Regions from separate parts of the Homo sapiens genome. Here regions 1, 2, 3, 5, 6 and 7 are each linked to region 4. The links are contacts of gene promoters, found by promoter capture Hi-C in blood cells and fetal thymus (Javierre and others, 2016). All regions are on one chromosome and are shown on one strand. The core of a region is centred on a gene start or on the middle of the fragment in contact, and the rest is flanking DNA. Distances in the headings are between cores, read along the strand shown. Region 1 overlaps LOC105378758 (a long non-coding RNA gene). Region 2 overlaps FGGY (FGGY carbohydrate kinase domain containing). Region 3 overlaps FGGY (FGGY carbohydrate kinase domain containing). Region 4 holds the start of OMA1 (OMA1 zinc metallopeptidase). Region 5 overlaps FGGY (FGGY carbohydrate kinase domain containing). Region 6 overlaps FGGY (FGGY carbohydrate kinase domain containing). Region 7 overlaps FGGY (FGGY carbohydrate kinase domain containing).

What was found. The method cuts DNA at HindIII sites, captures the fragments that hold promoters and counts their contacts. A CHiCAGO score of 5 or more calls a contact.
Region 1: a fragment that was not itself captured here is called in contact with the fragment with the promoter of OMA1 in region 4 in 7 of 17 cell types (M0 macrophages, total CD4 T cells, total B cells and 4 more); the score reaches 8.2 in M0 macrophages.
Region 2: a fragment that was not itself captured here is called in contact with the fragment with the promoter of OMA1 in region 4 in 4 of 17 cell types (neutrophils, activated CD4 T cells, monocytes and 1 more); the score reaches 6.8 in neutrophils.
Region 3: a fragment that was not itself captured here is called in contact with the fragment with the promoter of OMA1 in region 4 in 11 of 17 cell types (fetal thymus, total B cells, naive CD8 T cells and 8 more); the score reaches 24.4 in fetal thymus.
Region 5: a fragment that was not itself captured here is called in contact with the fragment with the promoter of OMA1 in region 4 in 5 of 17 cell types (total B cells, neutrophils, naive B cells and 2 more); the score reaches 9.1 in total B cells.
Region 6: a contact is called between a fragment that was not itself captured here and the fragment with the promoter of OMA1 in region 4, in 7 of 17 cell types (total B cells, total CD8 T cells, non-activated CD4 T cells and 4 more). The highest score is 9.5, in total B cells.
Region 7: a contact is called between a fragment that was not itself captured here and the fragment with the promoter of OMA1 in region 4, in 12 of 17 cell types (fetal thymus, total B cells, naive CD8 T cells and 9 more). The highest score is 13.7, in fetal thymus.

Annotation. Positions count from the first base shown.
Region 1 is chr1:59,776,545-59,780,241 of GRCh38, reverse strand. All of the region lies in intron 4 of LOC105378758 (a long non-coding RNA gene), which reads left to right. All of the region lies in intron 2 of LOC101926944 (a long non-coding RNA gene), which reads right to left. Among named protein-coding and RNA genes, the nearest start is that of HOOK1, 37 kb to the left of the region's middle. The HindIII fragment of the contact is 3,133 bases long and covers 1-3,032 here.
Region 2 is chr1:59,715,597-59,719,632 of GRCh38, reverse strand. All of the region lies in intron 14 of FGGY (FGGY carbohydrate kinase domain containing), which reads right to left. Among named protein-coding and RNA genes, the nearest start is that of MIR4711, 16 kb to the left of the region's middle. The HindIII fragment of the contact is 3,444 bases long and covers 983-4,036 here.
Region 3 is chr1:59,697,162-59,700,703 of GRCh38, reverse strand. The region is part of intron 14 of FGGY (FGGY carbohydrate kinase domain containing); the gene reads right to left. Among named protein-coding and RNA genes, the nearest start is that of MIR4711, 34 kb to the left of the region's middle. The HindIII fragment of the contact is 1,211 bases long and covers 1,607-2,817 here.
Region 4 is chr1:58,544,520-58,548,451 of GRCh38, reverse strand. OMA1 (OMA1 zinc metallopeptidase) reads left to right here and starts at 1,726. Exons shown (of 9, transcript NM_145243.5): 1 at 1,726-1,749. It also overlaps a transcript of DAB1 not described here. RefSeq lists enhancers at 1,288-1,477, 1,691-2,317 and silencers at 1,878-1,977, 1,988-2,077. The HindIII fragment of the contact is 5,811 bases long and covers 1-2,553 here.
Region 5 is chr1:59,679,822-59,683,812 of GRCh38, reverse strand. The region is part of intron 14 of FGGY (FGGY carbohydrate kinase domain containing); the gene reads right to left. Among named protein-coding and RNA genes, the nearest start is that of MIR4711, 51 kb to the left of the region's middle. The HindIII fragment of the contact is 6,732 bases long and covers 1-3,991 here.
Region 6 is chr1:59,736,748-59,740,480 of GRCh38, reverse strand. All of the region lies in intron 14 of FGGY (FGGY carbohydrate kinase domain containing), which reads right to left. Among named protein-coding and RNA genes, the nearest start is that of MIR4711, 5.3 kb to the right of the region's middle. The HindIII fragment of the contact is 1,337 bases long and covers 709-2,045 here.
Region 7 is chr1:59,759,693-59,763,776 of GRCh38, reverse strand. It overlaps FGGY (FGGY carbohydrate kinase domain containing), which reads right to left. Exons shown (of 16, transcript NM_018291.5): 16 at 1,047-1,274. The coding sequence ends at 1,193. Among named protein-coding and RNA genes, the nearest start is that of MIR4711, 28 kb to the right of the region's middle. RefSeq lists an enhancer at 975-1,024. The HindIII fragment of the contact is 632 bases long and covers 1,166-1,797 here.

The sequences.
Region 1 (3,697 bases), core at 217-2,716, 1.2 Mb before region 4:
CTTTTAAAAACCCTTCAGTGGCATTCCATTACACTATGACAACATCTGAACTCCTTATCATGGCCTTCAAGGTCTTATGTGATCCAGCCTTGGCCCCCTTGTGGTCACGTATCCCCTGGATCATTCCACTCTCACCACGATGGACTTCATCCAACTCTTCAAACATTTTGAGCACCTGCTATTTAGTGTTCTTTTAAATGATGGTTTTTCTACCTGTACTGCTGTCTCTCTGCCCTTTCACTTGGCTAATTCCTAGTCATTCAATAGATTTCACCTTAAGTATTTAACTGCAGAGAAGACCATCTTGACTTCTACCTAACCCCATTTGTATTAAATCATATCTATAACCCTTTTATAAAGAATCTGGTATTTTCCTTCATAGCATTTATAACAACCCATTTGTGCTTTCATTTATTCAAAGTCTTTTTATGTATATATACATGGGTTAGTATATATACATACATGTATTTTCTATCTTTTTCCACTGAGAGAAACTAGAAGCACTTCCGGCACCCAGATCTTGGTTTCTGATACCATTCTCCAATAAAAGGAACCAGTGTTCTTTGGAGAAATCACTGATTCTAGGGCAGGGGTGGGAAAATCCAAGATAAGCCTGGAGCATTTTGTAGTGACAGAATGCAAGGAAGGGCTCAACAAAATGGGGACATGTGAAAAGGGCACAGTAGTCAACCTGAAAAAGCTCCCATTGGCCAAAGCTAGGCAGTGGGAGCTCTAACTTGTTGCCCCAGTTAGGGAAACAAAATAAATGACAGTATTGGAATATAACCTAAAAAATAAAATGAATATTCATGAATGTTTACTGAGTGATAAATGATTGAATAAATAAATAAATGGAGGAGAAAGGATAAATATTTCCTGCCAAATTCCAAATGATAAACGTAGTTGCTGCCTCCTCCACGATGTAGAGCTTAACTCTGCTTCCCTTGTGAGGGCTGGATTTAGTACTCACTTCTAACTAACAGAATATGAAAAGGGAAAAATAGAAACTTAACAGCAGAGAAATCTGCCATGTATCACCTTAACTAAATTAATAAGGTTAACATCATCAATGATAGCTCATGTTTATAGCTTGTATCCTTGATGTGATGTGGTGAGAAGGGCACTTTGCCAATATGTCATTTGTCCAAAATATTCAGAACTCTAGTCTACTTATATGAACACATCAGACAAACCCAAATGCGGGGACTTTCTCCAAAATGCCTAACCAATCCTTTTTTTTTTTTTTTTTAGATGGTATTTCGCTCTTGTCACCCAGGCTGGAGTGCAATGGTGTGATCTCGGCTCACTGCAACCTCCGCCTCCTGGGTTCAAGTAATTCTCCTCCTCAGCCTCCCTAGTAGCTGGGATTACAGGTGCCCGCCACCATGCCCAGCTAATTTTTGTATTTTTAGTAGAGACAGGGTTTCAACATGTTGGCCAGGCTGGTCTCAAACTCCTGACCTCAGGTGATCCACCCACCTCAGCCTCCCAAAGTGCTGATATTACAGGCGTAAGCCACCAGGCCTGGCCCTAATCAATAATTTACAAAGGTGTCAAGGTCACAAAAAACAAAGAAAGTCTGAGAAACTAAAGAGATATGATGATTCAATGAAACATGGTGCCCTGGATTGGATCCTGGAAAAGGAAAACATTAATCAAAAAATTGGCGAAATTTGGTTAGAGTTTGTAATTTAGTTAGTAGCATCGTACCAATGAAAGTTTCTTAGTATTGATAAATACTGTATGGTTGTGTGAGTTGTTAACATTAGGGGAAGCAATGTGAAGGGTATATGGAACTCTCTATTGTTTGCAAGTCTTCTGTAAAACTAAAATTATTACAAAATGAAAATTTAAAAATGTCTTCTTCTACTAAACTTTATCTGTTGCTCACTACTGTATATTCATTTTTGGAACAGTGATGTATGGTGGGTAAAACTGTGGTTTCTCGAGGCTGGATGCATGTTTGATTTCTGGCCCTGCTATTTATGAACTATGGGAGTGGCAAGTTTCTTAAGGACTTCTTGTCTCAGTTTCCTCATCTATAGAAGGGGCATAAGGTGGTTGCGAGAATTGGAGGGCTTAATATATATAAAACACATACAACAATGCAAGGTTAGTTATTACGGGTATAATTTCCATTTAATATGTCATTGTTGAATGAGTGAATAAATGATTCAGGGCTTTTTGCTAAGTGTGAATCAGGATTGAATTCAAGTCAGAGAGAATATTTGAAGAAGAGGCAGGACATAGAGTAGTTTGTTTACAGTGGAATGGAGGCTCTGTAAGGCATAGCTGGTGGGTTGGCACAAGGATGGCAGAAGGATAAGGAAAAACTGTGGGGCATGTAAGCCAGGAGTGATACTGTTATGGAAGTGTGTATGAGGGCTTTGTGTTTGGAGCAGTGGTGAAGGTTGACAAACAAGGGCAATTGGTCTCTCCTGGGCATATTGCCTTCAAATTGGTTCTTCACTTTCTCCTGCTCTGCTCTGTATTTCAGGGGACTGACCCTTGAATTCTGCATATTTGGCCAGTGGGAGGCACTGGTGGAACACTAGAGGGAGGGAAGAGGGGAGAAGTTGGAATGTTTCTCCCCTCCCTCTCTGTCTTGGGCAGCAACTCCCCAGCAGCGCCATCTCCAGAACAGTCCTGCCAGGATGCCAGCTTCGCCCAGGGGCCCGTAACACTGCCTCTTCCTCTGTCCCTCTGGCCTAGGGTCTTAGTGGTTCCCTTCAGTTATGATTCTCTGGGTTGCCTCACTACCCCATGCTTGGCTCTCAGTTCCTCCACTTCTGTGTAATTAATTCCCAGTTTTTAAATCCCTGTTATGAATACTCAGCTGGCAGCTATTTCCTGCTTTGACTCTGACAGAAACAAAAGGCACGATGGAATTCCCTGTCTTCCAGCCTGACTTAAACTCAGGGGAAAAGATTTTTCAGTGCTACCATAGATAGAAACGCTGGCTACTTTCCTAATTGCTGGTTATAGGGTCCGTGTGCTGTGACCTGGCCTGGGCTTCAGATCATTGCAAAGCTTAGAAGGAGGAGGTGCTGATGAGAGCCCATTTAGGCGTATATCATGCACCACTGCCTTATGGAGAGTCCTGGACAGAACTGGACCTGATGGAAGGGAAAGATCTGATGGGAGGAGAAGGTCCTGGAATCTCAGTGATGCAACAGCCAGACCCAGTGTCACATCCATTGGGGGTTATGTGGGTTGAAGAGCTCCTTCTGCCTAAGTGTGCCAAGTATTGGAGTCAGGGGTATCCACATTACTCCAGCCCCTTTAAGTACACCTGGCATACTCGCTGGACTTCATACAAAAAGACACTACTATCATCAGCATTTTGTCTGGAAGATGATAGTGAGGCAGCCATATGAACTACCTCTCACTTGAGTTCTTGCTTTCTGTCTTCCTCACCTGGGCTCCATACCTTACATCCATTGCTCACCTGGCCCATTGGAAGAACAATCTGGCTTGGCCAGCTGTCTTGCCTTTGACCTCAGTATCCCTTGCAGGTATAATTCCAGCATTTATTTTTCAGCTTCTTATGCTTCCACCATAGTGAGGTAGGACTCTACTTCCACACACCCACTTAGCACATACCCAGGGACCTCCTCTTATTTTATTTTATCCTTAAAATATAGGAGACCAAATGAAAGATGGGATTGGCGAGTCTAAGATGAGACTGGAAGCAATA
Region 2 (4,036 bases), core at 1,455-3,954, 1.2 Mb before region 4:
ATAAATGTTTGTTGAATAAATAACTGTCTGAATGAAATGTCTCCAGAAAGTCTTAAAAGATACTTTAATAATATTTAATATAATGCTGATAATAACTATCATTTATTGAGCATCTACTGCTTGTCACATGCTGTGACATATGCTCACATATATCATTTCACAGAATTCTCATGATTACCTAGTAATGTGGGCCTTTTTTAGCTCCATTTTACAAATGAGAAACCGAGGTTGAGAAAGGTTAAGTAATTTCCCTAGGATGACATGGCTAGCAAGTGGCAGAACTGGATTTTTAACTCATATCCTTCTGATTCCAGAGGCCATGCTCTTAACTGCTGTAGCATCCTGTGCAGTATTTAAAACACTTAAAAAAAAAAGTTCTGTTGACTTCTTTGTTAAGAAAGACTCAATTAGGGTGAAGAGGTCTTCCTGCTTCTTCCCAGAATAGCCTCATCTTGTTGGATTGGCAGCTCCTAGGCTAGGAACAGGTGGGACCAGTAAAGCTGCCAGGGACAGGCCCTTGAGAAGGTGGCTGAACACACTGTCCAGTCCCTTTCAAAGTCTAGTGGGGATGGCTCTCACACAGGCTGGCAGGGTGGATCCTGGGTGTTGAGCTGGGGTGTGACCTTGAACAAAAGAGGTATAAGTACCCCAGGGGCAAAAGTCAATTGTTCTGAGAAGGAAGCTGGTGAAGTGGTCCTGGGTGCCAGTTATAGGGGGGTCAGGAAGCTAAAGCTAAGGGCACTGGGAGTGGCCATGAGCCAGGAGGCCAGGGGCTGAGAGTCTGGGGGAAAGTAGTGAAAGCCTCAGACAGGCTGCAAGCAATACCACGCTTGGCAAGGGGCCTTTGTAGTGCAAGGTCTCTGACCCCATGGTATACAGCGGGGAGTGTCAATGTGTAGGTGAAGGGGTGGTATGGGACAAATTCAACCTCAGAATGCTCCTCTGGGTAAACTCACTTTGGAAGAGGGACAAGTGACAAGCTTACAAAGAACCATCATCATATCACCATCCCAGGAGTTGGCAGAGGGCAAGTCGCTAATGCATGGGTGTGCCTGCTATGCCACTGGTGGTAGTGGAGAGCCTCACATGCTTCTATCTGGAACAAGTTGTGTTTAACAAACATTTGTAGAGAGCCACCCTCTGCCCCATGCCAGGCTCTGTAGGAACTGCAAGAAACAGAGGTTAGGAACTGGTTGGTGGCTCTCCTGGAGGGAGTCACCGTCTAGAAGGCAAGCCCTTTATTACTACCAACCACGAGCTTGGCTGATCTACCTCCTTAGTTTTCCTACTGAATCAGAGAAGCCTTATATCTATCATAATAATGTGTTAATAAACAGGAGGAGGTTTATGGTTGTAAAATGCTTTCACACCAACAGGAGGCAGTGTGATCTGATAGAAAGAATGTCTGGATCAGAATTAGGAAGACCTAGTTCAAATGCCAGCGTAACAGTTTGTTTAGTTGTTTGATCTTTAGTCAAATCCCTTATGGTCTTGGACCCACAGTCTCATCATCTGTAAAACTGGGCTCGTAACACCTATCCTGTTTTCTCCTGAGAGGTAATGTGACAGTAAGTAAGAGCATGGACTCAGGGGCCAAACTGCATGGGTTCAAAGTGTAGTTTCTCTACATACCAGCTGTGTGACCATAGGTGTGTTACTTAACCTTTTCTGTGCCTCAGTCTCCCCAGCTATACAAAGAAGATGATAATACCCCCAATCTAATAGGGTTTCTCTGAAGACTAAATAAGTTAATATATGTTAAGCGATTAGAAGAGAAATTAGAAAGTGCTGGCACACAGAAATACTTAAGTGCTATTGATGGGAAGACACAATATATTGCATAACTCAATCAGCATATAATTCTTGCCTTTTCCGTCCTTCTTCACATAGTGCCAGTAGCCGTGAGACTAGGACTTGAGCCTAAATCTCCATACTTCAAGTCTTATGTCCCTCAACTATGACTAAGTGGTAAGACTTAAGCAGTGCTGGTCATGGCCTTCTCAATCTACATGTGTGCCTTCTCTTCTTGGCATAAGTTCTTCAGCCATCCCAAACCCAAGCTCTGGGTGTTCATCCCAGGATTGCCTCTCCATCGAATATCACACTTCTGGGTTCACACGATTTCCTCCTTCCTGTCTTTCCCATCCGGCCTTTGTTGAAAGAACTGATCCTTTTCATTATGGTATCCTATGCTCTAAACCATGCCATAGCTGCCCATTGCCTGTGGTGGGCAGTATCAGAGTGGTCCAGGTAGTGTAAGGTCTTTAATTCATGGCACTTTCCATCTGAGTCCATGGGGAATTGTTTATAGGTAACAGTATTAGAACAAGCAGAACCTATGATTATATTAAATGGGTTTATAGGGTATATAGATTACCCTATAAAATCTCAACGACAAGCACATGTATCCAAGGAAGAACGTAACAACACAAAAGCTCTGCACTGTTGAACTAAGTAAGCAGAATATTTCTAATTTTCCCATCAACCTTTGATTGCTATAATCTAAGCCTCAATTTTCATATCTGTAAAACAGGATGATACCTACATCACAGAATGGACAAGGAGGGTTAAGGGCGAGCATATGTGAAATGTGTGTGGTCAGCAATCCTGCAACTAAGTGTTATGATGATCACTATTGTTATTCTGAAACCCAGGTACCTCTCTCTGGCCTTCAAAATCCTGTAGAATCTGTCACCACATTATTTACTCATTCTGATTTTCTACAGTTCCCAGGGATTTGCTGATTCTGTCCGTCTGAGAGCTCTCACTTCCATTTCTGCAGGAAATCTGTGGTTCCTTTTCCCGCTTCCATCATGCCTGAATCTGAGCCTCTCCTTTTTAAATTCAGTCTGTCATTCAAGGCACAGTTCACATTTGACCAGGAAACTTGAGAGCCCTCCCCTCCCCTGTCCGCTCTCTTGTTCCCAGCTCTCTGAATTCACACTCACTTACTGTCTGTACTAAATAACTTACTTTAAAATGCCTGCTGTTGTCTCAGTATTTTGGTTTTGTCTCCCTAATTAGATTGTAATCCTTTCTCAAGCAGCCACTGAGATTCTTTTTTCTTTGATGCTAGTTTGCCGCATAAAACAAATGTTCCAAAAGTTCCTAGCAACGTTTCCTCTGAGGGTCCCCAAATGGAGTGCAAAGATTCCTGGGAGCTCAGAGATCAAGATGTAGTTTCTTCATCTTTTAAATGAAAATAATGATACCAACCTCATAGAGTTGTTGGATAGACTGAGATCATGGGCATAGAATTGGCCAGAAATATGCTTAACTGAATTATCTTGCAGAAGAAAAGCAAAAGGTAACTGGAATTGATAGGAAACTGGGAAAGGAGGTAAAAAGAAAGGGAATACCATGCTAATAAAACAGATGTATTAAGTATCTCCTGTGTGCTAGGTACTATGCTAGGCATTTCATATATATTATATATAAGATACTGGTGACTAACACAAGTTCTGGAGTCAGGCTGTTTGATTCAAATCCTAGTCCTACCTGTTACCAGCTTTGTGGCCCCAGCTAACCTACTTAAAATAGGTTTTAATACCTTTGGCTTATTTCCTTCATCTTTAAGTTGAGATAATTTAAAGCAGAGGCAAACTTTTTTCTATGAAGGGCCAGATAGTAAGTATTTTAGGTTTTATGGGCCATTTGGTCGCTGTCACAATTATTTAACTCTGCAGTTGTAGCACAGTAGCAGCCATAGGGTCTATGTGAATGAATGGATGTGATTGTGTCTCAATATAACTTTATTTTCAAAAACAGTCAGTAGGCAAAATTTGGCCTGTGGGGAGTAGTTTGCCAATCTCCAATATAGAATCTATTTCCTTAGGTCTGTATGAGGATTAAAAAGTTAACATAGACTGTGCTCTTAGCACAGTGCTCTGCACATAGTAATTACTCAACAAATGTTGGCTGTTGTGTATATAATGGACCCATGGAATAGGTGTTAGTATGTCCCTTTACCGGGAAGCAAACTAAAGCTCAGAAGTAACTGAACAGTTTCTCCAAGATCTGACATCTCATAGTGGCA
Region 3 (3,542 bases), core at 963-3,462, 1.2 Mb before region 4:
TCTTCCCAACTGAATGTAAGTTCTATGAGGGCAGGTGTTGCTAGACAAAGCTAGAGGCACTCAGTGAGGAAAGCAGACAGGTATCAGACAGTAAAGGAGACGTGCACACTCCAAAGGGAGGGCAGGCTAATGGGGCTAAGAAAAGTGACACTGACTCCCAAGCAGTTCAAGGAAAAACTAATAACATAAACTCTTATTGCACACGACCTGTGATAAGCTCATGCACTACTTTGTTGAAGTTTCCTTGTTGGAACACAGAAGCATTCTGTGAATGTGGGTAAAAATTGGGATAATAACAGTTCCTGTCCCATGGTGACTGAGTTAATTCATGCAAAGTGGTTAGAACAGTGCTTGGCATATAAAAAACATCAATAAACTTTGCCTATCATCATTGTCACCATCATTATTTACAGAGAGATATGACAGATAGATAATACTCATCTATAAGAATTATATGCATTGCTGTGCACTGTATTTGCTTTTTCTTTTTGAAATGATTCTTAGAATTCCTACAGTGTACAAAGTTAAACATGTGCCACCTATTTTGAACTTAATGTAGTACAAAAACAGTTTTATAAGACTTGTTTGTCAGTTTTTATATAATCGAAGAATTTTAATGTGTTTGTAACAGACACATTTATGATTGCTTTGATCAAGAATTTAAAAGCTTCAAGCCATATAAACATGGAGAAAATGTAAGGGCTCTGAGAAGCTAGAAGAAATAATGATATCAGTGGAGAGAACAAATAGGCTAAAAGTCTCAATGACAACTTTATAAGGGTGAATATGGATATAGAATATTGAACAAGGCAAATAGAAGAATTAGAGATGTGAGAAGCGAGACATTCGCACAGAACAAGTCAAAGCACCACATACAGTCATCACTTCTCTGCAATCAACGCGGGACATGCCTGTTACAAAGGCAAGAACAGCAGGCAAACTGTTGCAAATAAGAACGAGAATTAAACATGTTAATAAATATGATGTTGTTTTATCAATAACTTTAAAAATCTGCTAGAATACTGTATGTTACTCCAAGTTCAGCTAGTTCTTTATTTTTATAAAAACCTCTTTTTATTTACCTCCTTTTTTTGTTTGCATATTGGAAGCCTGGTAAATAGAACTGGAAACCTACCTCGCCCAGGGTACCATTTGCCTTCTTTCTCCATCAGCCCCAATGACCCACAAATACTTTTTCTATCCATGGCAAAAGAGCAGAGGGGTTGTTTTTGAGATTTTAGCAGCCCATGCAATGTTCTCTACAGCCCCTAGGTGTCACTATTGCAAAACTAACAGAAGCCTGAACCGTCAAAAAGAAAAAGTACATTTAATATGAAACACTTTCAATAACTATGCAAAAGGCAGACATCATTTAATACAGAAGCTACAAACAATTTAGTATCTCTAATTGAATTTTTAATTTCCTTTTAAACTCAAAGGCTCACCCCAAGAAGAAGAAAAATATCATTTTTTAGCCAGAAAAAAAATCTCAGAACTGTTCTTTCTCCTAACATTTACACTGAGGGACTCAGCTGAAGCTCACGATACTAAAAGTTTGTGGTATAATTTGTTTTATAATCAAGATTGGTTTGATAGTACAAAAGCTTTCAGAGTAAAAATGTAAGACAGTAAATGAGAGCTGGCTGGAAGGAAAAATGTAGCTATGTTAGTTTGATATTCAACCAAAAGCTATAATCTTATTAAACATATTTAAACATGGTTTTCATTTAGATTTGGCAGCTTGATTAATGGGGATGTATTAAATAATACCTGGCTGCTAGGAGCATATTTAGGAATCAGTGCCACATAAAACATACGACATGTACAATTCAGTTTCATTATTATTTAAGGTTCTCTGTTCTCTTGGCTGTGGGCACACACATATTAAAAATTAAGTACACGCACTCAATGTATGCGCTGCGCTTTTAAAGGGCTTTCTCTTTAAGCAGAAAGATGAAATGGAAAACGAACTCAACTCTGGTGAAAGGTAATGGATTCATCCCTTTGGGGACAGCTGTCCTGTTTATCAAAAGAAAGGGGAGAGGTGGGTCAGAAGCAAGAAAAAAAAATTCCCAAGTGGTCAGCAAAGAGAGACGCCCAACTTCAGAGGGGAGCTGAAATCAGTTTCTACACCCAGGCTTCCTTCTTTGTCACAGTTGAGAGGTCGAATGAATGGTATGTTTAACCATGAGGCCATGGGGGAATTGAGATGCTGATTCCCAGAGCATTATAGAAACACTTTGGTAATGGGGGTGTGGGGGTTGGAGGGGAGTGTGAAGAAGCATCTGTAGTTTTTCTGGGCATAATGCTAGGTACTGACCAAGGGGTGGGAACTGCGGGGTGGGCATGGTTCTGACTAGCTGGGAAGATAGAAAAGTATGAAGTAAAGGACCAAGTATCATAATAGAGTTCTACTCAGTGTTTTTGATGAGAAAAAAATGATACATATGACATGCAGAACCTTATCAATAAATTATCTTTCTCCCCTTTCAAATGACATGAGGTTCCCTAATAATCTTTGGGCTGGAACAAGACATCTCAGAGAGGCCAAAATGTCATATATCACATTACATTTCTAAACAACCCAATGGGACAGGGAAAAGTACTATTAATATTTTAACTTTGGAAACTATGTTTAAATCCAGAAAAAATACAGAAAGCATCTCATCAATCAGAAGGAAAAAAAAGACATGCTTTTTTGATAAAAGTATTATTATCTCTATGTACAGATTACAGAACTGAGGCTCAGAGAGTTCAATCACGTTACCCAAGATCACATATTTAGTAAGTTTCAGAGGTAGGACTGGAACCCAAGCTTGTCTTATTTGAAAACCCACTTTTAAAATCTTCAACTCTCATTGCTTCTCTGATTGACTGAAGCCTTGGGCAGAAGAAACAAAGAAAATAGGGGGTGATGTGGAGGGGCACAGCATGCAATTCTGTTTACCTCTTGTGTCACCTACTTGCAAAAGACTGGAAGAAGAGAGTCTGATTTCTTCTCAAATACTGCTTCCCATTGCTGCTATCGTCCACAACTGAGCTATCTATTTCCCCCACTGGAAAGAAGTCACAAAAATGTTAAGCACGCCAAAGTCTTCACAGCGACGATGGTTATAATCAGCAGATCACAGAGAACAAGCTATGTTGCATTAAGAATACAACCAAGAAGGAAGGAAATTCTGATACGTGCTACAGCATGGATAAACCTTGAGAACATTATGCTAAATGCAATTAGCCAGTCAACAAAAGACAAATGCTGTATGATTCCACTTATATGAGGTATCTAAAGAGTAGTTAAATTCACAGAGACAGAAAGTAGAATGGTGGTTGCTAGGGGTTGGGGGAGGGGGCAATGCAGAGTTATTGTTTAACGGGTAAAGTTTCAGTTTTGCAAGATGAAAAGAGTTCCGGAGATGGATGGTGGTGATGGTTGCACAATAATGTGAATGAACTTAATACCACCAAACCGTACACTTAAAAATGGTTAAGATGATAAATTTTATGTTATGTGTATTACAAACAAACAAAAGAATACAACCAGG
Region 4 (3,932 bases), core at 477-2,976:
ATCCTGCAATACTGAAACAAATATTTACTGTAATTAATGATTACTCTTTGGTCTGTGTCCCACGGCCATTTTCTTGACTGATTTTATGTTGAGGAAAGAGGAATACCCAGACATTTCACAGGTGTTACCCAAAGTATGTAACACACATGGCTCCTCTCTAAGTGTGGGGGCTTATGGGGATCAGGTAATAAGCAGAGTCCTGGATAATGTCCAGCTTACAGTGGGTCCAGGAATACACTGACCCATCCAGTAGTCATTTTCTTAGTTCCTGAGTGCATAATTGGGAGTACATATTGGGCAGCTGGAGCAATCTCCACATTGGTAAGAAGCTCAGGGTCCTTGGTCTTGAGTTATCATGGTGGGGAAAGCCAATGGGAAGCCTCTGAAGCTGTCCTTCTTTCCAAGTGAAGATAATAAATCAAAACCGATATTTCATCTGAGGGGATAGTGAGATGATGGTGGAGATTAATGTCATAATTAAAGACCTGAAATATACAAGAGTGGTTGGTCATCCCTGCCATATCTCTACTTAACTTGCCAGTCTGGCCCCTTTGGAAATCAGGTGGACCCAGGATAATGACATAATGGCTCTGCGCAGTCCAAAAGGAGCTGGATCAACTGGAAATTCCAGAGAACATCACACCCATCTATTTCACCAATGACATTATGCTAACCAGGCAAGATGAGCAAGAGGTGGCTAGCATGCTGGAAACTTTGGTAAGACATGTGCACTCCAGAGTTTGGGAGATAAACCCTACGAAGACTGAAGGACCTCCTACTTCAGTTTTTAGGGGTCCAGTTGTCAGGGGTTTTCCAGGATATCCCTTTCAAAGTAAAAGGCAAATCATAAAATACACATAAGATAAACGAAACAGTAACTTACACATTTTCCAAAAGAGATACCTAAAATTGTTCATAGTGTTTATGTCCTTTGACATAGTGTTTATGTCCTTTGAGATGTTTTCATTGTGCACAGAGTGTAAACATAATAAACTAATATGAGACCTCACTACTCATCCATCACAATCCAGTGTTTATTTGTACTGGCTTATTTGTACACTTTTATTTATTTGTGTTTATTTGTACACTTTTTTTTAATCGCCTGTCTTTCCTCACTGTGATATAAAGTTCACGAAATTCAGGTCTGTCTTGTTCACTGCTACATCCTTGGCACTTAAAATGTAGTTGATGCTCAAGAAATATGTTTTGGTGAAATGAATGAAACATACTATACACATAATTTTGGAGCCAGCTACTTTAACCTCCAGACACTTAAGATTATACTTCATCTTTCTTAAAATGCGTCCCTCCAAAAATCATATGAAAGCACTGTTCCCATACTCCAAAGACTATTTCTATGAATGCAGATTCAGAACCAGGAAGCCTTCGTCTTTTGGCAGTCTTCGAGTCTCTTCCCTTTTGGCCGGTACTGCCGTAGAGACTACAACGGACACAGCCTTGCGTGGATCATTCTTTAGAGGACCCAACTCACCAAAGACGGGAGAAAGTTGTTCCTAGGCAAGCAGCCCAGCCCAGGGCCATGTCCCGCCTTAAGCCACACGGAGGCGCTAGAGCGCCACAGTCTCCGCGGGGCCCGGGGCAGCTGGGAGAACGACTCTGGGCGGCTGTATTGACTGCCGGGTGTGGGCGGAGCGAAGGGCGCCCCGGCCGGTATGGCGGGCAGGAAGTGCGGGTGCGCGCCTGCGCATAGGTCGGGTCTGCGGTGTCACCGCTTTCGCTTCTGCTTGAGTCAGTCCTCACGGTGACGCTTTTCCCCAGCTTTTCCGAGTAGGATCGTGCCCAGGGGAGGAGGCAGAGTGCGGCAGTGGGGAGGGGGCGGAGCGCAGAGCGCCTGCGGGGGCGCCCGGGCAAGGAGTGGGGATCCTTGGGGATGGGGGTACGGGAGGAGGCGTGGGTGGGCGATAAGGCTGCGTGGAGGGGAGGGGCGGGGGGCGCCGGGGCGGGAGACGGAGGGGATCTGTCCTGGGGGAGCCCGGTTCTCCCCTAGCCTTGCCCGGGGCACGCCGGTGACCCCGTGTGTCTGCCCCGTGGCAGTACTTTCGTGGGCCGCCTGCCCTCCCCCTCAGCCCGCCCTTATCCGCGGCTCCGCTTTCAGAGCAGGGTTTCTCACCCGCGGGGCTTCGGGCTCCTCACCCGGCACCTCTGCCAGAGGGGACCGCCTCCCGGCGCGTCGGGCATTCGTCTCTTTCACCCCTTCCCTCTTCAGGAGAAACTGAACACGTTTTCCAGCCTAAACTCGGCAGGGCAAACCAGAACATTCCCCGTCTAAGCAGTTCCGGGGAGTTTTAACAATTTCCTCGTAAACTCGTCTACAGAACTCACTGTATACTGTTTAAATGTCGCCTGTGTGTGGAGCAACAGTTTTATTGTGCCGTGCAATCCTCAACAAGAAATTGTAGTCCAGGGAGATGAAAATCCCTTATTTGGCATTCAGGCGTTGATCAAGGTCGTGCAACCCTCGCTAAAAGGATTTAGGTTCATCTCCGTCATTCTCAGCCGGGGTGAAGGGGTGTAGTCTGACATTTGGAAGCTTAAGAACCAAGTCTGCTGCCGTCCAATTCTTTTTTAAAGCCTTCCATCATGTGTGTACTTTGCTTGAATGATTATTTTAAAGTACATGTCCTATTTTTGCCAATCTGACAGCTGTTTCCATAGAAACTAGAGAAGAAATAGTCATTTTCAGCAAGAGTTGTTAAAACTGTCTTCCAGGCTTCAGCTGTGAGTGCCAGTGAGTGCTGCACTTGCTCATTCGGAGATGGTACTTAAAGAATTAAGGATCTGAAATGTTCGTAGAGGCTAACAATCCAAATTGTTTAATTTTCTCACATCATTAATTTTGTTATCCTAGAAGTCTGCCAGCTATGTTTGTTGACCTGCCACAGCTCTTTGAAGAGAATATGTCAGCCCTGATTTTTTTTTTTCTTATGTGCTCTGTAGTCTAGTGATTGGCTCCTTGAAAATGCATGAATAGATTTCTTCCCTCATTCTTTACCCTTTCTTCAGGATAAACCGGGTATTACAAAATATCAGGCACTGTTTCTATTCAAAACGACACTTGGTTGTCAGTGATAGAAATGATAATGGTTTTAATTATATATGCGTAGTGTTGGGGCTTTTGCTTATACCTTCTGTGTCAATAGGATTCTTTTAAAATTTTTACACAAGTCATGAGAAATGAGAAGGAGTTTGCTTGTCATGTGCAGAGCTAAGCAGTGTGAATAGATGTGCATAGACATAGAGATGAGAGCTTTCTTTTTCTGTGGGGTGTAAGTAAATCAGGGAGTTTGGAATTTAGGAATGGGTGAAGGAGGGTTGGGGAAGGTGCCTGGAGAAGTAGTAGGAGGGCCTGGTTCGCCATATGAAGGAGTTTGTGGAAGCCATGGAAAACCAACGAAAGTCCAGGCGTGGTGGCTCATGACTGTAATCCCAACACTTCGCAGTGCAGTATGATCAGTTGAGCCCAGGAGTTAAAAACCAGCCTGGGCAACATAGTGACACACCGTGTCTACAGAAAAAAATTAAAAAATTAGCTGGGCTGGCCAGGTGCGGTGGCTCAGGCCTATAATCCCAACACTTTGGGAGACCGAGGTGAGCAGATCACTTGAGGCCAGGAGTTCGAGACTAGCCTGGGCAATTTGCCGAAACCCCGTCTCTACTAAAAATACAAAAATTAGCCAGATGTGGTAATGCATGCTTGTAATCCCAGCTACTGAGGAGACTGAGGCACGAGAATTGCTTGAACCCAAGAGGCGAGGTTGCAGTGAGCCGAGGTGGCACCACTGCACTCCAGCCTGGACAACGACAAAGTGAGACCCTGTCTCGAAAAGAAAAGAAAAACAATGGGAATTACAGAAATAGTTGCCTGAGTGGAGGTTTAAAAAAGTAATAATACATCCCGTAGAAATTTGAAC
Region 5 (3,991 bases), core at 481-2,980, 1.1 Mb before region 4:
TTACTAATTTGCCCTACTTAAACCAAGAGTGCTTTTAATTTTTAATGAGATAAGGGAAGAAGATGCCTTTACTTAGTAAGGAGCAGCTATTTTATTTCCTTCTCTTGTTTTGCCCAGCCAATTAATAACATTTCTAAGGAAATGCATCCCTCTCATGAATTCTTTCTCCCTATCTTCTTCCTGACCTCCCAGGTTTAAAAAGAGATGGCAACAGACAACAGCCACTTAGAAACAAACTGAATTCATCTCTGACCTGGCTGGCTGGGCTGGACAAGGCCTTGTAACGTGGAGTAACATCGTATTCACAAACAGTGCCATCTGATTTGGGGGGAGCTGGGTTTTATCTATTCCCAGGAATCATGCATAGCATATGTATACAGAACATAGTCATAGGTCTCCATATAAGGCAATCCCCCAACAACCCTGCTTTATTTCTTGGTGTTAATGTCAGATAATTTTAAGCACAGTCCTGGGATAGCCTACAAACAGTGAGGGGCATGGACTTTGGAGTAAGATCTGAATTTGAGTGCTGGCTCTCTCACTTGCTAGACCACAGGCACATTACTTAAACTTTCTGGCCCTGTTTCTTGTCTGTAAAGATGAAGTGAATAATCTAACTTGCAAGAATTAAATGTCATCTAAAGTACCTTAGCACAGTGCCAGGCTCAGGGTAGGTACAGAAAAATACTCGTTATTCTTCTCTTTAGCAGAAGTTAAGGTAGGAAAATCAAAACAAGGAAAGGGATTCCAGCGTTTTTATCATTACCTACAGAGCAAGGAATCTAGTTTAGTGCTATTCAAAGGGCCCATCTGTGGTGAAAGGAGTTGGCCCCAGGATGTAAGCCAGCACACCGGTTCCTTCATTGAGAACATCTTGCTATGAATAAAATGACAGCTGAACTAAACAGTACACTTGGTGACATAATTGATTTACATTCTGATGCAAGTTCCTTGTTTCATAGCAAATCTGAACAAACCATTTAGAGACTGCCCTCTAGTCTGCAGACCGCTCTGAATAGTCCAGGGTGGGTGACTCAGTTGAATGTCTCCAAGTGCTTCTGAAGATTCCTTCCCACCCTCCTCTGAGCTTAGAGATGTGGCCTTCTACAGAATACATCAACAGGTTCCCTTGCTCTCTGATTCTGATTCCAGCCAATGGTGAGGCAGGCAGGAGATTAGAGAGAGGGAGAATAGGGTTAACAGTGCAGCCCTTTTCTTCCAGGGTCACTGTGCAGTCTCCACACAGCCCTCTGTTCTGGGCATCCAGTAACTGCACTTTTCCCTCGCCTCTACAGGCCCAGCTGTTACAAACCCGAGGGTCACATTCTCCCTGTGATTTCTCTATGTCTCTATGACTGCAATTTTGTAAACAGTCCCTCTTTTAAACCCTCTCAAATTACTCAAATTTGAGGGTGCCCTCTGTTTACCTGTGAGGACACTAACATTTACCAAAGGGATATTTTGATATACATTTAAATTCTTGTCATCTATTTCTGATACTAGTTTTTAAAGTAATGGTAATCACTTAGCCCCATAAGAATCCATTTCCACTTGTGGCTGAGCTGAACAGTCTTTGGTTTGGGAATCCCAGGCTAGTACTTGGATTCTGCCTCTCTCACTTTCTAGCCATTGGCTTTGGTAACTCACTTACTCTCTCTAACCCTGTTTCCTCATTTGTAAAATTATTATAATATTATAGAAAATGTCTTTATATACAATTTTTCATATGGTGTAACTTTTTAAAATGTTCAAATTTCTTTGAAATGCATACAATTAAATACATGCTACTCAAGATTCTGATCCCACGCTAGTTTTTTATGGTTCACTGCAGAGGATCAAATACCTCTGTTAGGAAACTATAATTATGATTTCTTTTGTTTTCTTCTGCATATTCTTGATCATCTGCCTAAATGCTGCAACTGAAACTCTTTTAAGACACTGTACCTTCCACACTCTGAATCGAACCTCAAACTTTTTCTAGTAGTATGTATGTGTGTGTGTGTGTGCATGTGTGTGTGTGTGTGTGTGTATTTTTCAAGGCAATTTTCCCCATCACAGAATATTACTGATTTAACTAAAAGCCTTGTCTTTCCTGATCTCTCATTTGAATATTATACAGCATGGATTTCATTGCTATTCATGAGTTATTTTAGTGTAAAGAAAAAAAACCTATTTCTAGTTTATTCCAACAAGAATGTTTACAATAAAAAGTAAAGGCATAAATAGTAATTAGAGTGAGGAATTAATTACTTACAGGCACGTCTTTCTATGAGATAAATCTTACACATTTTTGTTTAGGTTTACACCAGTATGAAATGCCATCTTGAACAAAATCAAGTCAAACAGGTAAACCTTATTATAGAAAGAGAGTTCTGTAATCCTTCAAAGTTTCTAAGAACTTAGTAGATGTTTAGCCCTTGGTTGCTTTTATAAAAGCCCAATTCTTACATTCCTGAATAAAAATTGTGGGGGGAGGTGAGAGAGATATTTGGGAAAATGCGTTTTGTTAGCCTAAACCTTTGTGTTAATAACAATAGCATTTAAGTATCTTTTAATTCAAGTTATTTTAATCTATTAAAGTATTCCTTAATCTATTGTACTTCATTATTGAAGTATCTTTTAATTCATGTTCTTAATTAAAGTGCTTTTTATATCTACCTAAAGTGCTTCTTTTATCTACCTTTTTATAGCTACAAAAAGTAAACAGGCATATATTATGATTAAAAGCAAACAAGTAGAGCAAAATAATACTGGTGAGTATGGTCATTCTCTGGGGAAATGAATTAGAATATTTCCATGCCAAAGAGGGCACCCTGCTTATTTTTATTTCTGTGTTGGACACTCAACCAAGCAATGATGACAAATACATAATGCTATTTTTTATAAACGATACCACCTTGTGAGAGGTGTCTCAGTTGCCATAGTGTACTTCCCTAGCAATGTATATGTATCTACAGGATATGGTCTGATGGAATACAAAGAGCGTGGGCTTTGTATTAAACAAGTTATACAACATTTCTGAGCTTCAGAGTCCTCATCTGCACAAAGATTGCTGCTACCAACCACTGGGTTGCTTCAAGGGGTCTATGAAATGACAATGGATGGAAAGTAACAGGTCCTGTTCTTGGATCACTCTGTAAGGAACAAGAGAGTCAAATGATGTGTATCTTATATTGAAATAATTTCCTTAAAAAATTACAATTTTCAGCTAATGTTTTGACTTTTATACCCATGGTATCATTCTGCAAACTGGATTGAAACCAGAGGTTTTATAATTAATCAGAACCTGATCTATTTTTGTTTTATTCTATTTTTTTTTTTTTTCTGGAGGGGTCGAAAAAACTCTTAAAAAAAAAAAAAAAGAATGTATTGTTAACCAGGTGTGGCAATAAGAATAATGAATGTTAGGGCCAACTTCATATTCTTAATTGAATTCTTCTTTCAATTATTAATTATTATACCATTCCAAAGTTTTCTGTTGACTTTCTGAGGGACACTGACATATGGGACAGGATACTCAGAAAATTCAATCAGTAATCTGAATCTATTTAATTAGGAATCAGAATCTCATCCAGAAACACATGCTTAAGCAGCAAAGGGCAAAAGGCTACTAAAAAAAAAAGCTGATAATATCAGGACCATATGTGAAATAAGTAGGATTATAAGAGGCCTGGGGATGAAAGCTAAATAGAACTAAAATGGAACTAAAATCCATGGCAAGAGATTCCTTATATACAAGAAATGTAAACCCTGAGTTTTCAGACACTACTGATGGGAGTATAAATTATTACTATGTATCAGAACCCTAAATGCTGGGCACACTTTTTGCCTGAACAATTATATGCCTCTAATTTTATTTTATAGAGATAATTTAGGATGTGTGCAAACATTTAGTAACAGAGATGTCAGTTGCAGCATTCTTTAAAACAATGGAGAAAACCTAAATATTCAAGTCTGGAGGACTGGTGAAATAAGCTATAATATATTCTAT
Region 6 (3,733 bases), core at 128-2,627, 1.2 Mb before region 4:
GTGCACAATATGCTCTTGCGAGCAGGGCTGAGCTAGCCCCAGCTCACTACCGGATCTAAGAAAGCTGGGAGATTTAATGGCAGTTGTCTTTCTAATGGCTTTTCTCTTAGAGGTAGTTGGTGGCTAAGAATAAACAGGAGGTCATCTCTCTGAACATGAGAGGAAAGACAGGGATGGAAATTGGCAAAGTTTGATAATAGTCATTGTAGAAAATGGGAAATTGAGCTGAAGTGATATATTTATTCAGGTTCCTATTAGGAAAGAGATTGACACTCACATTGGGTAACTGAAGTAAGCTTCAAGAAGAGTTGTTTAAAAAGGTTTAGGTAAAGAAACAAGTACCTAATGATTACCAACAGTAAGGAGCCATTACAACCTCTTAGCCTGAAGGAGGACAGGGAGGGAGGAGAGGTTCCCATCATGCACAAAATTGTAGGGAAAGGGCCACACACAGGAACTGTGGTCCATTGTAGAAGGATGGTAGATGGATGTAGCTAACCTGCGTCAACCCAGCAAGGAGAGCGCTGGGGGAATAAACAACTTCATTATTCTCCAGGTTCCTGCTGGGGCTGCCCATTGGCCAAACCCAACCAGAAACCAGGGCTAAGAGACTGGTAACAATTAGTATAGAGTGGTAGAAGCCTGCCTTATGGTTGTATGGCTTTGATTTATAGTGTCCACAAAGCTGAATTCATCCTGGATTAAGCTTTGCTAAAGAACAATGGGGAAAAAATAAAACAGCCACGTGGAGATTGACCATGTAGAAAAAGAGAAGATGGGTAAGAGGAAAGTGAAAAAAAAATTCTGAAAACAGCCCTTCCACGTACATTTTAGAGAGAAAGAAACTAAAACTCAAAGCATAATGTGGCCTGCCCAAGAGAGCAAGTTTAGTTAGTGGTAGGGTTATCAGACAGGTCTGTTTAGCTGGAAAGCATTTTCCACCTTACCTTCCCACCTGCAAGCAATGAATGGTTTGGTTGAAACCATTCTCCCCATACCCCTGCACCCCTCACTACCCAGTTTCTGCGCTTGGGAGAGTAAAACTCAAAAGAACAAAACTTATTTGAATGAACGTTTTTACATATGGCCAGATAGGTGAGGTGAGGCTGTGTTTGGTAGCCTGGGCAGGAAATGTTTGCTAGTTTATTTGCAGAAGCCAAACTTATCTCTACCAAGCAATTAAAAAATAATCTGTCAGGTTAGAGGCAAGGACAGAACAAGATACAGCTTTTAGTTGAAGCTGAAACATTATTGGAATTTTCTACCCCCAATATATAAACTCATGCATACTGAAAAGCAAATATTCACAAGGACTGCCTTCATTACTGGTGCTCATGGCAAATGTACAAGCTAAGAGGTGGATGAGGCATGTGCAAGGGTGTCTTTTGTGAAATAAAGGTGAAGTTAAGTTTTCAGGAATGCTCTGTTCCCCACTCCATGTCTGTTCTGGTCTCCCTTCAAGGCAGTACCTGACCAGGTGACCTTCTTACTTAGGTCCAGTGGTTTGGGCAGGAAAGGCAGAGAGAATGTGCCTGGATTCCCCTGTATCTGGTACTGAAATCAGAGCTACGAAGCTGGGAATGGACAAAGAAGCACTGGCCACAGCTAGGATGGCATTCCTGTGGTGTGACCTTGGGGCCTAATCTCTCTCAACCCATTTATGGAATTTCCTCATTTATAAAATTTGGCCAATACCTAATGGGTAATTGTGAGGATTATATAAGGCCAAGAATACAAAGCTCTGGACAGATGTGAGTGCCCAGCAAAAGTGGATTCTTGCCACATTCCTGTTGCTCTCTGGTCCTAGTACTTTGATTTAACCATTTATTTCATTTCCCAGAATAACCAGTTTCTTCTGACATGGGATTCCATTCACAGAAGATAGCAGCGGTTTTCCTACAACTTCCCAATCATGATTATTCTAGTTTTGTTTTGTTTTATTTGGTCACTTTTGGGCCCTGGTGACTCCAGGTGGCCATTCTGGGGAAACCACAGCATTTTGGATCATGGTTTTTTTCCCCATCTTTGAGTAAACACCAAAAGCTTTCTTTACCTTTTATTCCAATTCTTGTTTGCCATCTGGTGCCTGGTTTGGCTGCATCTGTGTTTACTTAATGACTTTAGGCAAAGGCCGAGTTTACATACGGGAAGAATGAGAGGGCTTTGCTGATTCCTTCCATATGTTCATTTATTCATATATTATGATTTTTGTAATCTCACCAGCATAGATCTCTTCAGACAATCCTTACCCTGTTCCCTGGAGAGCTGCTTCTTTGTGTTTGCAGCTGGGAGTTTCTGTGAGAACGTTTTCTTCAATGCCTATTACCTTTAGCACAGCTCAGTGAGGCTTTTAGATGGGCACAAAATTAATATTCTTGAAGGTTCTTCTTTTTGAATAGGGGAGCTTATTTGACTTGGTTGATTCTGAGGACTCAGGAGACCTGGGCTCTAGACTCTTCTTTTACTTTGTAAATGGTATGAATTCAGACAAGTTTTATAACCACTCTGGTCCTCAGTTTGCTCTCGCCCCCATGATTCAATTACTTCCCACTGGGTCCCTCCCACGACATGGAGGAATTCAAGGTGAGATGTGGGTGGGAACACAGTCAAACCATATCATTCTGCCCCTGGCCCCTCCCAAATCACATGTCCTCACATTTCAAAACTAATCATGCCTTCCCAAAAGTCCCTCAAAGTCTTAACTCGTTTTGGCATTAACTCAAAAGTCCACAGTCCAGCGTCACCTCTGAGACAAAGGTAAGTCCCTTCTGCCTATGAGCCTGCAAAATCGAAAGCAAGTTAGTTACTTCCCAGATACAATGGGGGTACAGGCATTGGGTAAATACAGCCATTCCAAATGGGAGAAATTGGCCAAAACAAAGGGGCTACAGGCCCCATGCTAGTCCAAAATCCAGTGAGGCAGTCAAATCTTAAAACTACAAAATGATCTCCTTTGACTCCATGTCTCACATCCAGGTCACACTGATACAAGAGGTGGGCTCCCATGGTCTTGGGCAGCTCTGCCGCTTTGGATCTGCAGGGTACAACCTCCCTCCCAGATGCTTTCATGGGCTGGTGTTGAGTGTTTACAGCTTTTTCAGGCACATGGTGTAAGCTGTCAGTGGATCTACCATTCTGGGGTCTGGAGGTCAGTGCCCTCTTCTCACAGCTCCACTAGACGGTGCCCCAGTAGGGACTCTGGGCTGGGACTCCAACCCCACATTTCCCTTCCACACTGCCCTAGCAGAGGTTCTCCAAGAGGACCCTGTCCCTGCAGCAAACTTCTGCCTGGACATCCAGGCATTTCCATACATCCTCTGAAATCTAGGTAGAGGTTCTTAAACCCCAGTTCTTGACTTCTGTGCACTTGCCAGCTCAACATCATGTGGAAGCTGCCAAGGCTTGAGGCTTGCGCCTTTAGAAGCCATGGCCTGAGCTCTATGTTGGCCCCTTTCAGCCATGGCTGGAGCAGCTGGGATTCAGGGCACCAAGTCTTGAGGCTGCACACAGCAGGGGTACCCTGGGCCCTGCCTACAAAACCACTTTTTCCTCCTAAGCCTCCAGGCCTGTGATGGGAGGAGCTGCCATGAAGACCTCTGACATGGCCTGGAGACATTTTCCCCATTGTCTTGGGGATTAACGTTCGGCTCCTTGTTACTTATACACATTTCTGCAGCTGGCTTGACTTCCTCCTCAGAAAACGAGGTTTTCTTTTCTATTGCATTGTCAGGCT
Region 7 (4,084 bases), core at 232-2,731, 1.2 Mb before region 4:
TACATCAAAAGCTTTTAGCCATCAGGTTTCTTCAGTTTCCTTTAATCTGGAAACTTCCCACAGCCTTTCTTTGTCAGTATGACATAGATATTTTTGAAAAATATAGTCCATTAAAAAATAAAATGCTTCCCATGTTGCGTTTGTCTGATGTTTCCTTCTGATTAGATTCAGGCTCTGCATTAAAATGCTCTTTCTTTTCTCATATCTGGAGGCACACAATGTCCATTTGCCCATCTGAAGTTGATTTGGATCACCTAATCAAGATGTTGTCCTATTTCTTCCCTGTATACTTAACGTTCTTTTTCCTCTTGTAACTAATAAGCAAATTCTGAAGAGATATTTTAAGATTATGCATATATCCTGTTATTCTTCAAAATTCCCTCCTGGATCCATCGATGATTCCTGCCTATACCTGTCTTTAATATGATGATTGTGAAATTACAATTCTGCAAATAAATGTGGTATCTGACCCTAGACTAGATCCTGCACAGGAGGGGAAAATGCCATAAAAGACATCGACTATGCATTAGATGTCCTACCTAAAGTAATGTAAGTTTTTCATTTAATAGCTGACATTTAATTGATTAAAAAGTACAGGCCTGGCCGGGCGCAGTGGCTCATGCCTGTAATCTCAGCACTTTGGGAGGCCGAGGCGGAAAGATCACGAGGTCAGGAGATCGAGACCATCCTGGCTAACATGGTGAAACCCTGTCTCTACTAAAAATACAAAAAATTAGCCAGGCGCGGTGGCGGGCGCCTGTAGTCCCAGCTACTCAGGAGGCTGAGGCAGGAGAATGGTGTGAACCTGGGAGGCGGGGTTTGCAGTGAGCCGAGATCGCTCCACTGAACTCCAGCCTGGGCGATAGAGCGAGACTCCGTCTCAAAAAAAAAAAAAAAAAAGTACAGGCCTTCCCTGGATTGAATAGCCCCCAAGGTCTAGTCTCATGTGAGATCCTATGACCCTATGTGAAACTTCTGTTACTATAATGGAGACTGTATGGAAACTGAAACTAAATAATAGCGGTATTTTGAAATGAAGACTCTAATTCTGGTTGCACATGTTTGTTTTCTTTATTGAAAGACAATACAGAAATGATGAAACAATACCTCAAGGGTCTTGAACATGGATCAAATGACAAGTCTTTAATGCAATGGCACAGAAGCTTCTGGCATCAGCACCTGCAAGCCCTGTTCAGTCATCATTCATGATCGCCAAATACTCCTTCTGGTGTTCAACCAGCTTCAGGAATACTTGGTATTTCTTATCATAGTATCTGTGGGAGAAATATAAATATGTTGAATGATCTCAAGACAAAACTGCCACAGGGCTTCCCTGTACATTTAGAAGAATGGAAATATATGTGTGGTGGTGATGCTGACACCTAGATTCTGAATGCTTACAGCATCCTGGGCAATGAATTAGCATGTTTCAGACCTATTATATGTGACCTGGATGAAGTTTTATTATCTCCAATTTAGAAATAAGAACATTTAAACCCCATCTCTTAAAAATACAAAAATTAGCCAGACATGGTGGTGGACGCCTGTAATCCCAGCTACTCAGGAGGCTGAGGCAGGAGAATTGCTTGAACCCGGGGGGCGGAGGTTGCAGTGAACCGTCCCCCGTTCACTGTGAAGTGGTTGAGTTGCACCACTTCGCTCCAGCCTGGGTGAAAGAGCCAGACTCCATCAAAAAAAAAAAAAAAAAAATTCCTAAATGAGAGGCATATACAAAGTAGTATAGATAAAAACTGGCAGAGCTGGAATTCAAACTCATGTCTGTCTGACTTCAAAGCTTCTACTGTATATACAAAAAGGCCGGACTTAATGGAGACTCTTTCACATTGCCAGCTTCAATAAGTATTTCCTATATAACTAGCCCCAGGTTTGATGACTGGCCTAAAATCACAGCCTGACCAAGGACAAAGACTGAACATTTTAATTGCCCTTTTGCAGATTCCACATCTAGGTTTCCCTTGTGACCTGCTTTATCCAGGAGCAAAACCCCATGGAAATGTAGCTAATGCCTTTTCTAGAGCTGTGCTCGCCTTCCAGACATCTCACAGTGGCCGTTGCTCTCCCTGTCCTATCTGGCTGACTCTTTGGGTTAGACCTGTTAGAACTGGTATTGGCCATGAATCAGACAGCAGAACAGCTGAAGCTGCTCTGGCATCATAATCCTGAAAGGAATAATAGGAACCGAGACAAATTATACTTGCAGCCTTGCAACTTTGTCCTTACTCCTCTTGGTTGGGAAGCTGACATGGGGTGAGGGGGTGAAGAAGCCAGTTTAGCATGTCTTGCTCAATTCTGGGGTGCTCTGAAAAGGAGTCCTCATGATGAAATTTTGGTGCAAAGTTGTGCATTGGCAGAGAGAGGTTGTAAGAGTAACCTTGGATACACACAGGGACTTCTACTTGTCACACATAGCTATGTTAGTAGGAGTCCCCTACCCAATATTTATTAGACTGTAAGCATTCTGGTAACGTAGGAGTTGTGACGGGGCCAAGCACAGGGTTAAAAGGCGAACTCCAAAGCCTGGGTTGGAATCTTAATGTGGCCTAACATTAGCTGTGTGACTTTGGATATGTTACTTAAACTATTTCTGCCTAAATTTCTCCATCTGTAAATGGGGATAATTATGGGATCTACTTCAGCAGAGCTGTTGTAGATTAAATGTGGAAATAAATGAAAAGCATTTAGAACAGTACCTGACTCATAATAAGTGATATAAATGCTAGTTACTAAATTTTAGATAATTAATATTTTAATATCATCAATATAGCTATATGTAGGTACTACTAAGACCTACTCTATGAGCATCCAAATTTATTAGTTGTAGAATTATTTTAGGAACAATTTGCTCCTACTAATGATGCTCTGTGACAATATAACGGTAAGGAATTCTTTCACTACATGAGATAGATTTCTTGACTTTAGAATCTCAAAATATCTAGAAGGGAGCTAAGGTGAGCACCCCTTCACACACACTTGATTTACAATGTTAATACTGACAACTTTGCCACAACTTTGTGCACTGGCCTTATTCTTTACATAGGTGGAATCATGCAGTATTTGTCTTTTTGTGGTTATCTTATTTCACTTAGAATAATATCCTCAAGGTTCACTGATGTGTGGCATGTCAGAAATTGCTTCTTTCTAAGGCTGAATAATACTCCATTGTATGCACATATCATTCTTCATTTATATGTTCATCTACTAATGAACACTTAGGTTGCTCTCATGATTTTCGCTATCATGAATAATGTTGCTGTGAACATGAATGTAGAAATATCTCTTCCATACCCTACTTTCAGTTCTTTTGGGTATATACTCAGAAATACAATTCCTGAATCACATGTTAATTCTATTCTTAATTTCTTGAAGAATGGCCATAGTGTTTTCTGCAGCAGCGATACTATGTTACATTCTCACCAACTATGCACAGAGCTTCCAATTTCTCCACATCCTTGCCAACATTTGTTGTTTTCTGTTTTAAAATAGTAGCATCCTAATGTGTGAGGTGGTACCTCACGGTAGTTTTGATTTTCCTAATAGTGCTGTTGAATACCCTATCACGTGCTTACTGGTCATTTATAAATCTTCTTTGGGGAAATATTCATTCAAGTCCTTTGCCCACTTTTGAATTGGGTTGTTTTTGCTTTTTTGTTGTTGTTGAGTTTTAGGAGTTCTTTATACATTTATATATTCTGGATATCAATCCCTTACTGGATGTATGATAAGCAAATGTTTTCTCCCATTCTGTGAGTTGCCTTTTTACTCTGTTGATAGTGTCTTTCAATGCACCAAATTTCTCAAAGCACATTTAAGTGACTCTTCCAGAGCCACATATAAATTTGGACTGAACATAATAATGCAATTTGGGGTCATCCTAAACATTTATTATTAAACTATAGTCACTAAATTACACTCTCCGTGACTGTGAATTTTAAAATCAGCTGAATCCCCTCTCTTCAAAATGTGCCTCAACTCAGTCCCTGCTTCTGTGTGGCAGAGGCCTAAGTAAATGTCGTCCCACATCGTTAACAGTGTGATCTATTAGGCAATGAGATGAGGTTGGCTC